Regions from separate parts of the Homo sapiens genome. Here region 2 is linked to region 1. The links are contacts of gene promoters, found by promoter capture Hi-C in blood cells and fetal thymus (Javierre and others, 2016). All regions are on one chromosome and are shown on one strand. Each heading gives the region's core, a stretch centred on a gene start or on the middle of the fragment in contact. The rest is flanking DNA. Distances are from core to core; before and after follow the strand shown.

Region 1 (3,074 bases), core at 408-2,907:
GGCTCGTGCCTGTACTCCCAGCACTTTGGAAGGCTGAGGTGGGAGGATCACTTGAACCCAGGAGTTCAAGACCAGCCTGGGCAACAAAGCGAGACCCCCATCTCTACAAAAAATACAAAAATTAGCCAAGTGTGGTTGCGCATGCCTGTGGAGGCTGAGGCGGGAGGATTGCTTGAGCACAGGAGTTCAAGCCTGGGCGACAGCATGAGACCCTGTCTCAAAAACAAACCAAAAAAGATACCGGAACTGGTCACTTTTGACCTTAGCAGATAAGATTCTGGGCTGTAATGCCAAGTGAGATAACCAAACAAGAAGCTATTCATGACATGATAGGTGAGAGTAAACAAACAGCAGCAATTCTCACGGGGTGATTCAGGGTACCCAGCCTACATTTCTCTTGGTTGGGTAATTTTCAGCCGGCAGCTCTGGCATTCCTCTTCCCAACATTCACAGATAATTCAAACAGCAGCTCCTCTTGGGCAGCAGTGTGTGCCTGGCATGACCAGTAGCTGCCGGACATGGTTCTTCCAGGAGCCTGGATCTGGCTGCAGAGACAGATCAATTCAACACCCACATAAGACGACAAGAGTTGCAGTCAAAGGCAGAATACCTGTGGAAAAGGATTTGGAAGTAGGGGATTTTCAGCACCCCCAGCATGAATGGGTAAGACTTTGGGAGAAATGGCCCAGACTAAGTTGCTTAGGCCTGCTCCCAAATCTTTGGGAGGCCCAGGCAGGAGGATAGCTTGAGGTTAAGAGTTCGAGACCAGCCTGGGCAACACAGTGAGATCACTGTCCCTACATAAAAATTTAAAAATCAGTGGGGCGTGGTGGCCCGCGCCTGTGGTCCCAGCTACTTGGGAGGCTGAGGTGGAAGGATGGCTTGAGCCCAGGAGGTCGAGGCTGCAGTGAGCTGTGATCGTGCCACTGCCTTCCAGCCTGGGCCATAGAGCTGGACCCCATCTCTAAAAACAATAAAAGAGGCCGGGCGCGGTGGCTCACGCCTATAATCCCAGCACTTTGGGAGGCCGAGGCGGGTAGAACACCTGAGGTCAGGAGTTCGAGACCAGCCTGACCAACATGGTGAAATCCGTCTCTACTAAATACAAAAAAAATTAGCTGGGCGTGATGGCGCATGCCTGTAATCCAAGCTACTGGGGAGGCTGAGGCAGAATTGCTTGAATCCGGGAGGCGGAGGGTGCAGTAAGCCGAGATCGCGCCACTGCACTACAGCCTGGGAAACAAGAGCGAAACCCCGTCTCAAAATACAATAATAATAAAGACTTTGTGAGAAACAGCTAGTTGGGAAGAAATAAGCCAAGTCGGTAGCCTTGGGTCTCTCCCCGCCACTCCCCATTAGGGCCTCCCGAAGCCACCCCCATCCAAGGCACCTCCTGGGCGGGCCTGGTCGGAGATTTCCCTGGGGGCTGGAGCCCTGGTAGGGGGACGTGGAGTGCAGCAGGCTCGGAGGGGACACCGGGGCCGCCCCGGACTCGGGCGAGGTGGGGGTGGGACGGCGGCCCTACACACAAGGGGAAAGGGAGGGTCAGAGGAGGAGACTGACGGTCCTGGGACAGCCCAAGCTTCCCACAGCCCCGCGGAGGCGGCCTTACCGCCAGCCGCTGGGCTCCGGCGCCTCCCGGGCGCGATACGAGACTTCCTGCGGGCTCGTGACATCAGCACGGCGCCCCTGAGGGGCTGACTTCCGGCGGAAGTGTGCGAGGGCCGCCGCGGGTTGCGGGGCTGGAGTAACAGTGACCTCCCCGGCGCCCTCGCAGCCAGCCTGGGGACCTCCGTGGCCGGGTGTAACCGCTGGGAAGTGCGATTTTATTTTATTTTATTTTATTTTATTTTATTTTATTTTATTTTATTTTATTTTATTTTATTTATTTTATTTTATTTATTTTATTTTATTTATTTTATTTTATTTATTTTATTTTATTTATTTTATTTTATTTTATTTTATTTTATTTTATTTTATTTTATTTATTTTATTTTATGTATTACCTATTTTCTTATTTACTTATGTATTCGTTCATTCATTCAGAAACAGCCTCGCTCTGTCGCCCAAGCCGGAGTGCAATGGCGCTATCCTAGCACACTACAACCTCCAACTCCTGGGCTCAAGCAATGCCTCCTGCCTCAGCCTCCCAAGTAGCTGGGACCACAGGTGCATGCCACCACACCCGCCTAATTTTTTTTTTTTTTTTTTTTTTTTTGTAGAGACGGGTGTCTCACTATGTTGCCCAAGCTGATCTCGAACTCCCGGGCTCAAGTGATCCTCCCACCTCGGCCTCCCAGAGTGTTGAGATTACAGGCGTGAGTCCCTGCACTGGGCTGGAAGTGGGATTTTAGAGCAGTATTGCCAGGAGACTTACAGGAGGACCGACCTGGGCCTGGTGGGGGCGATCATTCTGGGGCTGTGACAGGGACTAAGCTGCCCTGCGGCCTGCACAGAGACCAGTCATGTCCCTGCTCAGAGCCCAGCAGGGGGATCCAGGTGGCCCAGGGCAGTCACACTTAGGGGGCTCTCAGACTATGTCTGTGTGGTGGACAGAGTTTGCTTTCAGCCACCCACACTGTTGAGATCTAGCAGAACATTTCCAGCATCTTCCGTTGCAGAAGCGGGCAGAAAGCACAATGTGTACCCATCAGTCAGATTCCGCTCCATGTGTGTCCTTGCTCCTGATGACAAGGACATGTTGCTCTGTACAGCCCTAAATATCCTCGGGGCAGTGACAAATACTTGACCACAAACGTTGAGGATAAAAGGGAAGGGTGTTTGATGCTAGGCAGGCTTGGGGTAACAAGAGCTGCTTCCAAACATAGCCCTGAGAAGGCCCTGTGGGGTGTCCTTTGCTCTGACCATCTCTGAATCAGCTGAGGCCAGGGTCTATTCCTGATGCCTCTGAAGACCTGAGCCAGGCCTGTCCTCCTTTGAGGGGAAATGTCTGATCTCCAAACACTGGCCTTAAAGCTCTTCTCTTTTCCTGTCTCTTTGCTACCTACGTCAGCTTCTTGATGCGTTTTCTTTTCCTTTTTATGAAACTCCTTACCAACAGGATGCCTTCTCCT
Region 2 (3,074 bases), core at 286-2,785, 990 kb before region 1:
GCTGGAGGGATAGAGTATCAGAATGAGGGATGATAGAAACGCAGGTTACCAGTGGCACGGAGAGTGGGCATGGAGAGAAGTGGGGGCCCTGGGGAATACTTAGAAGGCGGGATGAACAGAGCTTGGTGACTGACCAAGTGAATGACGGTGAAAGAGGATTCCAAGTTTTTTGTTCCCAAAACTGAGTGAATGGTGCTGCCTCAGGTGTCACGAGTCTGACCTCGAGGCAGTCTTCAGATGTCTGACAGTCTTTGCTTGTCTGTTCATGATTAAAAGTGGGTGGTCTTGGGCTTGTGGTGGTGATGGCTGTAAACAGCATAATGAGCTTAGTCCTGATGATCTTGGTGGCAGATGGTTTTGATAAGATGATGAGTTTGGGGAAAGTATTGCCTTTCCAATCCTGCCATTAGAAGAATGTAGGCTGAAGAAAGTGCTGTATTACTGAGAGGAGACATGACAGTATTCATCACTTCAAACACTATCTTGCCAATCTTCTCAGTGGTTTTGACCCTGGCCTCAAACCCCCACACAAAACCTCAGATCAATACAAATCTCTTCCTTATCCACTCCTACTATACATAGTTGAGGACAACTTTTCTGCTTGCACTCAGGAGATGACACTGCCTCCTACTTCAGAAAAGAAAATTAAAACTATTAGCTAGAATTTGCACAACCTCCCACTGCTTCCTCCTTCCCTCCTCCAACATCTTGATTCACTACCATTCTTACCTTCTTTTAGGTGACAAAGAGTAAGAGGAGGAACCCCATGTATATCTCCTCTTCTGGGACCTTGCACCATCAATTACTTCACTTCCATGTATCTTTGCCTCTCCATTTCTACTGGTTCTTTACTTTCAACACATACTCAAGTTATTCCCATTTTCTCTTCAAAGGAGAGGATCATATTTGCTCTCTGTAATTCCACTTCCCCCTCTCTCCCTTGAATTCACTCCATTCAGTCCTTCATGCCCACCATGCCACGAAACTGCCACTTGTCAAGGTCACCTGTGAGCTCCATGCTGCCAGTTTCAATGGCCAAAGCTTCACTCTTGCAACTTCTGTTGTTCTTGACTACTTCCTCTCTTGACATGTCTCATTCACTTTGTTGCATATCATCACTTTCTTCTGGTTTGTCTTTTATCCCTGTGACTTCACTGTTCCTTAAACATGACAAGCATGCTCTTGCCTCAGGGCTTCTTCACTAGCTATTCCCTCTGTCTGGAATGCAGAAATCTACATGACTCATACTCTCCCTTTACTCAAGACTGCTCACTTGTCACTGACTACCTATAAATTAGCTCCTTTGTTGTTGTCTTTATGACACCACAACTTCACATACGTCGCCATCTCTTTACTTTCCTATAGTTATCTTCTAGACTGTGTCTTCTCCTTATCTCCAGTTTTCATTCTGTATTTTTTTTCTTTTTAGTAAGAGGAAATAACTCTACATTCAAATTTGAGCAGGGCACTTGGTGACCTACTTAGACATGACATTCCTTGGCCTCCCTTTCAGCAAGGTAAGGCTATATCAAAAAGTTATGTCCTGTAAGATGTGAGTAGAACTGGATCATGTCCCTTAAAAGGAAAGCTGCTTGCTATACACTTTCTCTTCCCTCTTCTTGCTGTCTGGCAAATGGCAAAAAGAAATACAGACTGGAAATGGAAGCCATGTATTAAGGAAGGCAAAGCTGTTCTCACTAGCCTAAGTCCCAAACTAATCTCAGGGAGCTGGGGCACCTCCTCCCTTGGATCAACCACAGACTTCTGGACCATTATGCAAGAGAAAATAAACTTTGTTCTTTAAAAAATCATTGTTTGTTTGGACCTGGTAGAGCAGCTTAGCCAATTCCCTAATTAAAACAGAGGGGCTCTGTCTATTTTATTCTCTGCTTAATCACCAGGATGTAAAACAGTACCTAATAAATGTGGTAAATAAAAATGTATTGAATAAATCCTAAAACAACGTATTTATTCTACATCCTCCTCCAGCTAATGTCCCTTTTTCAACTTTCTTTTCCACTCAAGCTTTGTGAAAGTATATATTTTTTCATATTGCCACTAATTCTTCTAAAGCCCCTCACAGGAATAAGTGACACCTTTCTCAGTCTTTTTGGAAACTGATTCCCCTTCTCTACTAAACCAAGATCCTTGCAGGTAGCAATCTTTTAGCATGGAACTTTGGATTTCCCTTAGCACCTGTTGCATAGGTATCCAAAAAATATTTACTGAGTTGAGTGAGTGCTTTGTATCTTTGGAAACAGTAAACCGTAGCAGAGAACTTGACAGACTGGTCTGAGATTACACTAGTTGCCTTTACTAAACATGCGTTTTACAATAGATCCTAGGGCCACTGTAGTTCAGTCTCGGTATTTTGTTTGTTTTTAATTTAAGCTTTTGTATTCCTAATAGGATTTTTTTATTGTTGTTTTTTTGAGATGGAGCCTCGCTCTGTCGCCCAGGCTGGAGTGCTGTGGTGTAGTCTCAACTCACCACAATCACTGCCTCCCAGGTTCAAGTGATTCTCCTGCCTCAGCCTCCTGAGTAGCTGGGATTACAGGCATGCGCCACCATGCCTGGCTAATTTTTATATTTTCAGTAGAGATGGGATTTCACCATGTTGGCCAGGCTGGTCTCGAACTCCTGACCTCAAGTGATCTGCCTGCCTCATCCTCCCAAAGTGCTGGGATTACAGGCATGAGCCACTGCGCTTGGCCAGGATGTTCTTTTTAAGATTCTTCATTTATGTTGTGGTGATCCAGGAGAGGATTTTTGTTGTGGTTTTAAAACCAGAAGGATTGCAGTTGAAGGACAGCGAATTTCTTTCTTATTTACAGCTGCTCCTGGCAGCAATTCAGTTACTACAGTACTGGAACATTTTGTGAAGTCTGTGACTGGCTAATCCCAATTCTTTTTATTTCCACATGCACAAAATCAGTCTGTACCTGAGAGCAAGTTTTGCTTTTAGATGGAGGCTGGGCAGGTATCAAGCTGAAATGAAGCCCTGTAAACATGTGCCATGGCTTAGGTAATCTTTTCACATAGGTTGAAGATCAGAAGATCAGAGATATCTTAAA

The links. Contacts are between HindIII fragments. The CHiCAGO score rates a contact against its expected background, and 5 or more counts as called.
Region 2: a contact is called between a fragment that was not itself captured here and the fragment with the promoter of ZDHHC4 in region 1, in 1 of 17 cell types (monocytes). The highest score is 5.0, in monocytes.

Annotation. Positions count from the first base shown.
Region 1 is chr7:6,576,037-6,579,110 of GRCh38, reverse strand. ZDHHC4 (zDHHC palmitoyltransferase 4) reads right to left here and starts at 1,657. Exons shown (of 8, transcript NM_001134389.2): 1 at 1,613-1,657; 2 at 391-545. RefSeq lists an enhancer at 414-1,029 and a silencer at 1,308-1,637. The HindIII fragment of the contact is 1,968 bases long and covers 1,585-3,074 here.
Region 2 is chr7:7,562,680-7,565,753 of GRCh38, reverse strand. MIOS-DT (MIOS divergent transcript) reads left to right here. Exons shown (of 5, transcript NR_110084.1): 2 at 1,430-1,517. Among named protein-coding and RNA genes, the nearest start is that of MIOS-DT, 1.8 kb to the left of the region's middle. The HindIII fragment of the contact is 984 bases long and covers 1,044-2,027 here.